4 separate regions of the Homo sapiens genome follow, and all the other regions are linked to region 1. The links are contacts of gene promoters, found by promoter capture Hi-C in blood cells and fetal thymus (Javierre and others, 2016). All regions are on one chromosome and are shown on one strand. Each heading gives the region's core, a stretch centred on a gene start or on the middle of the fragment in contact. The rest is flanking DNA. Distances are from core to core; before and after follow the strand shown.

What was found. Contacts are between HindIII fragments. The CHiCAGO score rates a contact against its expected background, and 5 or more counts as called.
Region 2: a fragment that was not itself captured here is called in contact with the fragment with the promoter of PKD1L1 in region 1 in 1 of 17 cell types (neutrophils); the score reaches 5.3 in neutrophils.
Region 3: a contact is called between the fragment with the promoter of ABCA13 here and the fragment with the promoter of PKD1L1 in region 1, in 7 of 17 cell types (non-activated CD4 T cells, activated CD4 T cells, M1 macrophages and 4 more). The highest score is 7.8, in non-activated CD4 T cells.
Region 4: a contact is called between a fragment that was not itself captured here and the fragment with the promoter of PKD1L1 in region 1, in 12 of 17 cell types (activated CD4 T cells, M1 macrophages, naive CD4 T cells and 9 more). The highest score is 13.6, in activated CD4 T cells.

The regions. Positions count from the first base shown.
Region 1 is chr7:47,946,866-47,950,127 of GRCh38, reverse strand. It overlaps PKD1L1 (polycystin 1 like 1, transient receptor potential channel interacting), which reads left to right and starts at 1,662. Exons shown (of 57, transcript NM_138295.5): 1 at 1,662-1,731. The coding sequence starts at 1,688. The HindIII fragment of the contact is 5,981 bases long and covers 1-1,767 here.
Region 2 is chr7:48,188,972-48,192,233 of GRCh38, reverse strand. All of the region lies in intron 1 of ABCA13 (ATP binding cassette subfamily A member 13), which reads right to left. Among named protein-coding and RNA genes, the nearest start is that of ABCA13, 19 kb to the right of the region's middle. The HindIII fragment of the contact is 8,687 bases long and covers 1-3,262 here.
Region 3 is chr7:48,169,694-48,172,955 of GRCh38, reverse strand. ABCA13 (ATP binding cassette subfamily A member 13) reads right to left here and starts at 1,498. Exons shown (of 62, transcript NM_152701.5): 1 at 1,404-1,498. The coding sequence starts at 1,472. The HindIII fragment of the contact is 8,502 bases long and covers 1-3,262 here.
Region 4 is chr7:48,131,023-48,134,284 of GRCh38, reverse strand. No RefSeq gene overlaps it. Among named protein-coding and RNA genes, the nearest start is that of ABCA13, 39 kb to the left of the region's middle. RefSeq lists an enhancer at 604-1,211. The HindIII fragment of the contact is 3,537 bases long and covers 1-3,262 here.

The DNA.
Region 1 (3,262 bases), core at 413-2,912:
GATTTTGTTCGTTTACAAACTGCAGTTTGCAGTTTATCCTTTTCTTGGTCACAGGCGCATTTGAAAGTGTATTGCTAATGAAATTGGAAAGTATGCATTTCCCCCAAATCTGAGATTTACTCACAACAAGCACAGTGGGGACAAAGCCAGAGGCACTGACAAGGCAGTGTGAGAAGAGCAGAGGTGGCAGCAGGCCCCAGGAGACAGGTGTGTTAGGTCAACAGCAGGCCCCTTAACCCACCACAGGGCTCTGGTTACTCACCTCATTGGCAGCAAAGTTCCAGAAAACACAGGATCCAAGGCCGGACACCCGTAGCTTGGTTCATCATTGTTCAAGGGGTCTGTGTTCCCATCTGAGAAAGAGCTTGTGCCTGAAAACGTTCCCACTCTTCTTGGTATCACTCTCTTCAGAGTGGAGAGAAAAAATATCTAGTGTTCTGAGTAAAACATTAAGTTTTCTAAAATCTCTGAAGGTTTAAATGTTGGTATAAAGAACTAAGACAACTAACAAGTGCTTTAAAAATATAAGAGAAAATGTTTCGTAATGGAGAGAACTCAGTCTGACCCGCCAGTTGCAAACAAGGAGAGGTGCAGGAGGTTCGGAACCAGATCATTCCTAGGTTCTGCCGTAAGACAGAGTGCGCCTAGTGTGTGCCTTGCCAGCCTTCCTTAGGAATGCTCTTCTGCTCTTGTGGAAGGTATCCTGTTCCCCAGTGCAGTTGTGGACAGTTACAGCTTTTTTTTTTTTTTTTTTTTTTTGAGACAGAGCCTCGCTCTGTTGCCCAGGCTGGAGTGTGGTGGCACGATCTCGGCTCACTGCAACCTCCGCCTCTCGGTTTCGAGCAATTCTCCTGCCTCAGCCTCCCGAGTAGCTGGGACTACAGGTGCGTGCCACCATGCCTGGCTAATTTTTGTATTTTTAGTAGAGACGGGGTTTCACTATGCTGGCCAGGCTGGTCTCGAGCTCCTGACCTCGTGATCCGCCCACCTCGACCTCCCAAAGTGTTGGGATTATAGGCGTGAGCCACCGCGCCCAGCCAACAGTTACAGCTTTTTATTCTCAGACTTCTCTCAGCTTCCATGTACAGTCTCTCCCTTGAGTAGTGATCTGTTTCAGGCAGCCACAAAGATCCCTACCTAAAACACACTTTTGTTTTGTTTTGTTTTGTTTCATTTTGTTTTTGAGGCAGAGTCTCACTCTATTGCACAGTGGTGCAATCTCGTCTCACTGCAACCTCCACCTCCTAGGTTCAAGCAATTCTCTCGCCTGAGCCTCCTGGGTAACTGGGATTACAGATGTGTGCCACCACACTTGGCTATTTTTGTATTTTTAGTAGAGACGGGGTTTCACCATATTGGCCAGGCTGGTCTCAAACTTCTGGCCTCAAGTGATCCACCCACCTTGGCCTCCCAAATTGCTGGGATTACAGACATGAGCCACCACGTCTGTCAAAAGCACACTTCTTAGGAAGGAATTTGTCTGACAGTGTTAGGAAAACAAAAGCTGTTTCTGCTTGGGAAAATGTTACTGGAGTTTGGATTTTTCCCTCTGTGTTTGATGTGTGTCCTGATAAGAGGTCACAAGTACAGAAGCTGGAAGCATTAAGCTCTATTTCTTTGTCTTCCAGAGGATGTAGGAAGAAGCTGGTCTGCTGACTGTCATACTTGTGACCAGCTTGCACAGGACATGGCCGAGGAGGCAGCCCAGAACATTTCTGATGACCAGGAAAGGTGAGTTATCACTGTTCTCAGAGGGTTTGGTAAGCTTGATTTTAAAGTATGCATTCAGAAATTTTCTTTCAAAAGTCATCACCTCTAGGATGTGGGCTCACTCTGGCACGAGTGGAGGCCCTGTACCAGGAGGGTGCATTTGGCCGGCGGGGTCAGTTCAGAGGTTGGAGTTGGTGTTGAGAATGGAGTTTTTTCCTGAAGGCTTTTGAGAAGACTCCTCCAAGCGGATGCCTTCAGCCATGAGAAGTGCTGATTGCTCTTCCTGCAAATGCAGGATACCTTCCAAGTTCGAGGACTTTCTGCTGCCTGGTAGTAGACAAAGTTAAGCTATCTGCTTGTCTGCTAGGTCCCTTGCATGGAGACCAGGAGAAACCTGGCACAGGAAGAGATCATGGGGTCTTGGCCCAGGGGTCTTATTTCTTTTTTTTTGAGACGGAGTCTCTCTCTGTTGCCCAGGCTCGAGTGCAGAGGTGCGATCTTGGCTCACTGCAAGCTCTGCCTCCTGGGTTCATGCCATTTATCCTGCCTCAGCCTCCCAAGTAGCTGGGACCACAGGCGCCCACCACCACGCCCGACTAATTTTTTGTATTTTTAGTAGAGACGGGGTTTCACTGTGTTAGCCAGGATGGTCTCGATCTCCTGACCTTGTGATCTGCCCGCCTTGGCCTCCCAAAGTACTGGGATTACAGGCATAAGCCACCGCACCCAGCCTCCATGGGTCTTATTTCTAAACCCTCTTCCCCATGCTCTGTGCGCGCCAGCACCCATGTGTTGTTGAGGCTGGGCAGCCTGTGTGCTCTGCTGTTGACTGTCTCATGGCAGTGTGACATGGTGCAAACCTCCATGCCCCCTTTCCTGGGCGTGAGGCCAGCAAGGTGACCTGCCTGTGGGATGTGGTAAGGACCCAGGTGGGTCACCGCTGTCCCCTGGCCTGGCATGATGGGAGCCTGTGCCTGCAGATCTTGCCCAGTGGGGTACCCCGCCACTGCAGGTCACTTTACCTCCTCACCCCCAGATTTCTCATCCTGAAAATCTGAGTACCCCTGTTGTCACATCTGTAAACTCCAGAGGGTCGTTATAAAAATCAGTATCCTTGATGAATGCTTGCTGTCAGCATTTCTGCCTTTGTTAGCTTACTGTCTTTGTGCCATCACCATCATTTTATCAAAGAAACCCAAAGCAAACCAGGATGAGAAAATGAGGCTGCACGTGTTGACGGGGTTGGTCACATTCATGCTTGGAAATTTCTTTGCCTTATGTCACTCACTGCTGCCAAGCATTGTCTGATTTTGGCTACAATTTTTTCCCTTATTTTTTCTGGTTACCTCATGTTTCTTTTATTCCAAATGCCCATGCTCCTGCAGACTCCCAGAGCCTTGATGTTGGCCCAATTTGACCTTCACTCTTATCAGTCAGGGAATTGCAAGGAATTACCCCTTTGCCCTTAGAAAGGAAAGAAAAGCTGAGGAGCGGAAGTCGCTGACTTGATGTTTTTTCCCCTGTATATTTATACATCTTGTACTTGCAGACC
Region 2 (3,262 bases), core at 494-2,993, 240 kb before region 1:
TAATCATTTCACACATGGAATTTAATCATTTGAGGAAAAAAAAAAACACCACCTATAAGGTATAGCCCAAAAAATTAATAGAAAAGCCTCAATTGTCATAAAATTAATTTTACTGTCATCATTCTTCACTTGTTTTATGGTGGATAATCTTGTATTGAATTCATGTGACATCATTTTGCAAATACAAAAGTTTATAGCCAGACAAAAAGTAGGCAAGCCATTGAATAAATGCACAAAAAAAAACCTAAAAATCTGCAGGCTAAGAATGCTCCATCAAACACCAAAGAGGATATCTTACTGTTTCAGATTCCCAGTTATAATGCTTTGAACTAACATGAACTTCTGGTCACTTTGGTTTCTTTATTCTTTGAACTGCCATGGTCATATCCCATTGCAGTAATCCTTCCTTGTAAGCAGATCTAAATGTGACCAGATGAGTGGCCTAAAGCCATGAAGACAAAACACAGGTGTAAAAGAGTTTTTCCATCCCTGGTATAATTAAAGAAGAAAAGAAATCACCCTCTTTGGCCGGGCACGGTGGCTCACACCTGTAATCCCAACACTCTGGGAGGCCGAGGCAGACGGATCACTTGAGGTCAGGAGTTCCAGACCAGCCTGGCCAACACGGTGAAACTGCATCTCTACCAAAAATACAAAAAAAAATTAGCCAGGCATGGTGGCACACACCTGTAATTCCAGCTACTCAGAAAGCTGAGACAGGAGAATCACTTGAACCCGGGAGGTGGAGGTTGCAGTGAGTCGAGACTGCACCACACTGCACGCCAGCCTGGCAACAGAGCGAGACTCCGTCTCAAATTAAAAAATTAAAAATAAATCACCGTCTTTGAAATATTCCACGAGGAAGTATTTCTTGTGACAAAAAGTGCATCATGATTAAAAAGTTCTCTGACACAGTCCTGAAACCTAGTTTCACACATTCTGATAACAAAGAAAATGCCTGCAGATCACCCTCTGGTTCAAGGGACCACAATTAAACTATAAAGAAAGGTCAAGGACGCTCAGGAGATAACTACTTATTTAAGTCATTTTGGTCATTCTTTGTAATAAATTAATAAGTTACTGGAGTATTGGGGTAGGGAGGTGGTGGGGGAAGATTCCATCATTAATTCTGACTGAATATAAGTAAGCAAAATAAAAAATATACCTCATATTAAATGATAACTTGATAGCATTAAGAATAATAAACACATAATTTTCTTGGGTTTTTTATTCTGTTTCATTTTTAATAACATACAATAGCTATTTTTTAAGACAAGTAGTTGTATAAAAAACAGAAAATGGTTTATAGAACCAAGACTCATATAACTTTTGACATTATAAATATGTAAATAAACATATGTATGGTTAAGAAATTTTAAAAGTACAGAAAGATTATAACCACTCTCCTATAGGATAAACTATCTATTTACAAAATACATGTATATGTATAACTAATGTGTTAGAACCAATTTTCCATAACAGCACTTATAGTTCTACCTTGCTACTTTTAAAGGCTACATAATATTCCACCGTAGGATTTAATTTATTTAACCAATCACTTCATCATGAAAATTTGCATGTTTTTCTATTTGGGGCCAGTGATATCATGAGGTTGTTTTTCTTTTATCAATTAAAGTGGTACTTACTTAGAAGAGAAGCATTTCTGCTTGAAATTGAAAACTCTCTTAGGAGTGTTTCTAAATTTTTTCTATTACATGACACTATTGAAATATTACAACTGGGAAAATTTTGCTCAAATTTGCAACAGTTTTCTTGAAAAGGTAAAGGCCATCAAAGTCAGACATATGTGTAGCATGAATTTTGGTCCAAAACACCAAATATATTACTCTATTATAGTTGATTACAGATAACAAGACAGCAACATACTAAAACCAATGCACATTATGAAATCAAGTAGATGCAGTTCAATGAATCCCAGCTTTTAACTTCATGAGGTTTTTTTTACATATTTGGCTGACTTTTGTAAGTAGATCCGTGAGGTACCATTGCCAAATGGGATTACTGCACTGAAGTGTATATGATTTTTAATGTGGATTTTTAATTTGGATAGATGTAGTGAAAATGCCCTCATTAAAAACTAAACCAATTATCATTTACTCTGATTGCACTCTCAATAGCACCTAGGATTAACAAACTTAATTTTTTGTCAAGCTGATATGCAAAAACATAATGATAACTTTAGTTATTAAGATCAAGCATTTTTCACAAGTTAAGCATATAATAATTCCTTGCATATTAACTCTCTGTTCTTCCAGTTGCCTATTTTTCTATTAAGTTGTTCTTTATTTTTACAGACTTACAAAGCATCATTTTGTATTTAATTTTTTAATTAAAGAATTCAGCCTTTTCATGGCTTATGGTATTACAAATACTTTCTCCAACTTTGTATTTGCCTTTTTATTGTCTAAATCTTTCATGCCATTAATTTATCAATCCTTTTATTTATAGTATCTGGATATTGTTCCCTTCACATGAAGACAACATCATTTAAAGGACCCTGCCAAAGCCAAATTAAAATAGTAGTAACTCTAAAATCACAAATATTTTTCAGTCCAGTCTTAAAAATCCACATCCGATCTCTAGTTTCAAATGAAAATATTATTGGAAGAAAATAAAACCTTGAATCTTATCGTTGAGAAGTTTCTCTAAGCATCTTGAAATAATAACAGAATTCCAATTAAACCTAAAAAACAACATCTCAGAGTGTTTTATTTACAAGGTGGTCACTGACCCTTCTGAAAATCACAAGTGAAAAAATATCTTTCATTGTTCTGAATTTGAAGTTGCTCCATTCAAGAGAAAAGTAGCCAGACACCAGTTCTGCTGTGTCATTTTCCATTGTGTGTGAGTGGCTTTCATAAGACTATTTCTCTGCAGGGGTGCAAAGGCAGCCTTCCCTTTCTCATCACATTTTTAATCACGTTTTTCTTCTTATATGTCATTATTATCCTCGAATCTTGCTTAACATTTTGAATCTTACCCCTGTTAAATAGGAATGCTGTCTGATTAATGCTAGGGCTTCACCGTATCTCGCACATCTCAGACCTTCCATTGCTGACTTCTTAACACCAGAAAGTGACCCAATCAGAAGCAGAAACTGGCACTTCTGCTGTCCAAATGCGCTGGCACAGATGCTGCCACAGGCTCTCCTCTCAAGAAAAATAACCGTCTGGTAAACCTATTAGCAGTTAACAAAACAATGCCCCCACTACCAAACCACCACAAAGCCCTCCTACTCTTC
Region 3 (3,262 bases), core at 249-2,748, 220 kb before region 1:
TAAAACAAACTTACATGTCAATGAAATACACTGTTTATAAATGTAAAACTACCTACACAGACACGAACACACTAACAATCAATGAAGACTGTCTCACTCCTTTATTCCTGAACTTAAAACTTTTTTTTTTTTTTTTTTTTTTTTTTTTTTTTTTTTTTGAGACGGAGTCTCGCTCTGTCGCCCAGGCTGGAGTGCAGTGGCGCGATCTCGGCTCACTGCAAGCTCCGCCTCCCGGGTTCACGCCATTCTCCTGCCTCAGCCTCCCGCGTAGCTGGGACTACAGACGTCCGCCACCACACCCGGCTAATTTTTTTGTGTTTTTTTAGTAGAGACGGGGTTTCACTGTGTTAGCCAGGATGGTCTCGATCTCCTGACCTCGTGATCCGCCCGCCTCGGCCTCCCAAAGTGCTGGGATTACAGGCGTGAGCCACCGCGCCCGGCCAACTTAAAACTTTTGTACAAACTTTCAACTGAAATTATTTTGATCCTAAAGATCACATAAAAAAGAAAACATCTCCTTTAACTTGTATTTTATTTCAAGACAGAGAGATAGAATATTCTGGCTCGGAGGATTCAGCAAAATGTAATTCAATGTCAATTACTGAATCTCTTCAAACCAAAGCATTTGTCAGCAGAAAATTCCCATAGGTTAACTGTAGACCTTAAAATCAGAAACGATGCAGGTAAATTACTGCACATCTACTTCTCCTGAAAATGACATTTATAGGTATTAATGTTTATATAGTGGCATCAGGAATAAAGTTAGTCATAATAACAAGCAATTGATTTCTATTTCACAAAAACGTACACTTACAGGATATTTGCATAAGTATTCACACAAGTTTCATTTGAACAATTCCAATCTCCTTAGGAAAACCTTGCTAATGTAATTTGAATACAGTTCTAAATAGATGTGAATTAACACTAAAGATGGTGACCCTACAGAATAACAGAGTGGATGTGTCATACCCTGCTCTGGTGAGGCACACTGTGCAGTCTTGTGCTTCGGAGTCAGTACCTGTAGCATTCTGCTTATGCATTAAATGCAGCAAATGCTTTGTTCCTTAAACCTGAGAATTCACTGTTCAGTTTTTACAACGAATGCTTAGAACACAAATTATAGTTCAATTCCACCTGCTTTTTTGTTTGTTTGTTTTTAGAATTTTTCTAAATTTGCCCTTTTCTGATAAATTCTTCAGCCTTGATTTCATCCTGGTCATTAAAGTGTTCAGCTACTTTGGCCCTTGGGACGGGTTTTGATTTAAAATAATCCAACCTCCCCAAATTCCCTGCAGCATGAGTGTTTTTACCTGCCAGGAGGCAGAGGCAGGCAGGAAAGAATAGACCCTGATCTTGCTCCAGACCTCACTGGAACCCTATGGAAAACCAAGGCAAGCACTCACCGGGTTCCTGAGTCTGCAGAGCCAATTCTTCCACAGCAGGGCTTTGAACTGGCACCCGGCATGCCCCATGCCTGCTGCTCCCTGCTCTCAGTCAGGAAGCCAGCCTGTAAGGATGGTGCTTATATCTGCTGGGCTCAAGTGAAGGCATGTTGCCTATTAGTCAATTCTAACAAAAGTGAGTGATGCAAGAGAGATTACTGGTGACTGAATAAAACAGGCATCAGATGTCCCCTCTTGTTCGGCATCTGCTGAGAAATCTTTTCACTAGCTGTTCAGTGTTTCAGGAGGGTTGAATTACAGAAAGCTGCCTTCAGGGACTTTCTCGGGCATACACACATACACAGAGAGGGTGCCCTCCCTTTCCGAGAACCCACAGAACTGATCTGTGCGACAAGAAGTAATGCCCACATTTACCATTTACCTCCCTTTTTTTCTGGATATTAATTAGATGGAATTTTCCTTTTTTCTTCTGAAGCATTGGTTATTACACAAATTTGCCAAAATATTTCAATTTTGGTGGTCCCATGGCAGAGAGTTTGAAGGGAAGGAGATGGAAGCAGTGTTGGTGTCTGGGGGAGTTTGGGGAATGGGTGACTCAAGTTCCACTCTGCTACTGCACCTGCACTTCATACTTCTCCTTCACCCATTTCCTCCAAAGGGATCAGGATCTACGTTTCAAATGGTATCGGGTGCAGATGTGGCAGGACTCAGCAAGTGGCCTGTGGATTACCTCTGAGTCCTGTTTGATTCCTGAACACTTGCACTTTCTAAGTGGCATGATGGATTCAGCTTGCCAGCTGGTGGCTCCATCGTCTTGGAAGCCAGGCCCTCTTGAGTTCCTGTTGCCCCCAGTTGTGGTCAGAAGGATTTCAGGCAACCCAGTCTTGTGGTCTTCTATTTCATAAAGCAATTTTCACAAGCTGTGAATGCTTGATAAATGGCTTTTGCAATAGGAAACAGGGAACACAGGCTTCAGCAAAGAAACTGACTCAATTATTTTGTAAACTTATTTGTTTAGAGCATGCCTATTTTATTTTATTTTTTGTTACATGGCTGGCAGCACTAGAGTGAAGGCCATTACTTAGCAGGATGGCGCCCAGCAACCATAAGTGGATTTGCCTGATCCCCATATGATGTTCCCCCTTGACCTGTGACTTCTCAAAGGTCTTTGGGGTTGCCTAAGTATTGCTACTCTGGTTCTCTTTGCAGATAACATCTAGAACACCTTACAAGTAATTGTCATAATTTTTAAAAATCTAGTATAAGAAAAAGCCTCCAACCATAAGGTTTTTCTCATGTTATGTTCATAGCAGCCAGTTTTTATGCTGCTATGCCAGAATTATGTCAGAGACACAAAAATTATCTCATCCATTGCTTTCATGGAACAATGCTGTGTTAGGATTTTCAGATAAACAGAACCAATGGGTGATTCATTGATCGATTGATTGATTGATTATAAGGAATAGGCTCACACAGTCATGGAGGTGGGCAAGTCCTAAGATCTGCAAGGTGAATTAGCAAGTCAGAGACCCAAGGAAGCCAATGATATAGTTCCAGTCCGAGTCCAAAGACCTGAGAACAGGAGAGCCAATGGTGTAGTTGCCATCCAAAGACTGGGAAACTTGAGACCCAGGACAAGCTGGTATTTCCATAAAGTCTGAAGGCAGAAAACAAAAAAAAGCCAATGTCCCAGTATGAAGGCCATCAGACAGAAATAATTATCTAACTTAGGGGAAAGTCAGACTTTTTGTTCTGTTTAGGTCTTCAACTAATTGGATGAGACCCACTCACACTAGGGAGGGCCATCTGCTGAATTCAGTCTACCTACTTAAATATTAATGTCATTTATAAACACCCTT
Region 4 (3,262 bases), core at 309-2,808, 180 kb before region 1:
AGTGAACATAAGGCCGATTCACACTTCAGCTGTGACAGGAAATAGCCTCTCCATAGAGTGTAGTCCAAGTAAATGACTTTGTAACTTTACTTCATCCTCTTCATTTACATAGGGCATACCCAAAGCAAAGGATATTGAAACTCCCCAAAATTTTGTAACAGGGCCTTTGAGCCCCTATGCTCAGGCCTGCTCCCACACTGTGGACTGTACTTTCATTTTCAATAAAACCCTTCATTCCTTTCTTGATTTGTTTGTGCATTTTGTCCAATTCTTTGTTCAAGATGTCAAGTACCTGGAGACCCTCCACCATTAACAGTTGGGGTGCAGCTTAGTTTTTATACATTTTTAGGAGACATGAGACTTCAATCAAATACATTTAAGATGTACATTTCTTTGGTCCAAAAAGGCGGGACCACTCAAGGTGGGTGTGCGGGGCTTCCAGGTTATTGGTAGATTTAAATATTTTCTGATTAGCAATTGGTTAAAAGACTTTATTGAAAAACCTAGGACCAATCGAAAGGAAATGTCTGGGTTAAGATAAGGGGTTGTGGAGACCAAGTTTCCTTTTTTTTTTTTTTTCAGATGGAGTCTTACTCTGTCACCCATGCTGGAGTGCAGTGGTTCAATCTCGGCTCACTGCAACCTCAGCCTCCCAGGTTTAAGTGATTCTCCTGTCTCAGCCTCCCAAGTAGCTGGGATCACAGGCGTGTGCCACCACGCCCATCTAATTTTTGTATTTTTAGTAGAGATGGGGTTTCACCATATTGGTCAGACTGGTCTTGAACTCCTGACATCAGGTGATCCACCCACCTCAGCCTCCCAAAGTGAGCCACTGTGGCCAGCCGACCAAGGTTCTTATTATGCAAATGAATCCCCCAGGTAGTGGGTTTCAAAGACAATAGATTGTAAATGATTCTTATCAGACTTAAAAAGGTGCCAGACTCTTAGCTGATTCTCTCCTGGATCAGGAAAAATGCCTGGAAAGGAAAAGGGGATTCTCTACAGAACATAGGTTTTTCAAGAGATGACTTTGCAGGATAATTTCAAAATATGGCAAGGAAATACATTTGGAGTTAAAATATTTTGATTTCTTTCATTATCTGTCATGTAATGTTATGCCAGAGTCAGGATGGAAAGCAGGCTATGTTAAATAAGCCCTTCTGAGGAGACTTTATGGTGTGTAGTGCATGACTCCCCAAACCTTTTAGGTAGGAATTTGGACAACAGAAGAAAAAAGGTCAGAGTTTAACTCTCAACACAAATAGAATAATCAAAACTCAATTGGCAAAAATTTGCTGAGCTTTGTAGAATTCCTTGTCTGAAACCTTTTCCATTGGTTTTACTTTGCCTAAACTCAACCCCTTTTGGTAAATACCAACTGTCTCCATTTGAAATTATAACAGGCAGACCTATGAAATTATTTCCAGAAAACTGTGAATCTATGGTATTAAAAGAATATGTTGAATAATTGCAACAGCTTTATAAGGCAGCCAACTAGAAACTATAATTTAGTAAAAGACTCTTTCCACAGTGACCTCCTGTAGGATGAAAAATTCTAGGACCATGGACTTCAACCAGGAGATTTTGTCTGTTGGAAATAAGATCTTTTAAAAGACTTCCTCCAGCCAAGATGAAAGGGAATTATCAGGTGCTCCCAACCAATCCTCATGCCACTAAGCTAAAAGGAATTGACTCATGTCACCCATTTAAAGAAAGCCACTTTGACCGGGCACGGTGGCTCACGCCTGTAATCCCAGTATTTTGGGAGGCTGAGGTGGGTGGATCACCTGAGGTCAGGAATTCGAGACCAGCCTGATTATCATGGAGAAACCCCGTCTCTACTAAAAAATACAAAAAAATTAGCTGGGCGTGGTAGCACATGCCTGTAATCCCAGCTATTCAGGAGACTGAGGCAGGAGAATTGCTTGAATCCGGGAGGCAGAGGTTGCGGTGAGGCAAGATCGCACCATTGCACCCCAGCCTGGGCAACAAGAGCGAAACTCCATCTCAAAAAAAAAAAAAAGAAGAAGAAGAAGAAAAAAAGAAAGCCACTTCACCAATTTGAACTTTGTCTCAAACTGGTGATCTAAAAAAATTCTCCAGAACCAACAAGAATGAGAAAAAGACAACATCTGAGATAAACAGCTTTCCTAAGACACTGGACTAATCCTGTATCTATATAAATGCTAAACATTAATAATTGTTAGTAGATGGAGAATATCTTTCTTTGAAGTTCCCACTAAATTTCTTTTTTTGTTTTTATGTCCCTAGTTCTTGGGCTTTCTTGCCACTATCAACAGTTATTGCCCATAGCAAACCTCTTCTTTCAGTGGGCTCAGGACCATGCTAGCAGATTACAGAAAAACACTTGTTGGGTATGTGGCCTCATGCCCTTCTCCAGTGGTTCTGCCTGCCATGGTGGATATCTCCTTTCCAAAGACAAGATTAGATAGAATGTCAGAAATATATCCATGTTTCTCAAGAACAGTGATCACTGCTTCATACTAGCATGACAAAGGATGACGTGCGTCACTGGCCTGTTAATAATACTATACAAAGCAAAGCACATGGGAAGAGCATTTCAGTAAAAGAGACCAATTTATTAGCTTTAATGCTGGCACTGACCCAACTGAGAGATAAAGCAACTGAATTTGGGGATGATATAATACAAATTCGGAACTGTTTTAGCTGGCTTACCTCCTCTTTTGGTCAGATTTAAGTTGGGAATGAAAGAATCACACCAAAGATACATGGCTCAATAGCACTAGAGATATGTGATGGATAACCAAGGAAATGTCTAACCACATCAGTATATCACACAGTACTGATTGACATGCCCCTGAATGGGCACAGAGAGTGGGTATTTACTGGCTAGCTCTAAATGGCTGTATCTTGGCTGTGTGGCACCAATCTGTGGTCACATTTACCCCTAGGATGGTTAGGACGGTGTTCTTTGGGTTATGCCTGGGCACAAGGTTGAGCAGTTCATATTCCTTCAAGGCCTGCAAATCTTCCTCATTTATAATATCAATGGGTTTGTTCTGTATCCCATCAGTATGATCATTTAGCTTCCATCTTTCTGCCCAACTGTGTATTGAGTATGCCATTTGGCATGTAGAGGCCCTAACCAACTATATAAAATGAGGCCCTAAATGATAGCTGCATGGTTATCTCGTTATTAAACAATGGCATTGCTCTTATGAGAAGGGCTGCAGACATACTCACTGCAGCCCAAGGAGAAACCTGTGCTGTCATAAAAACT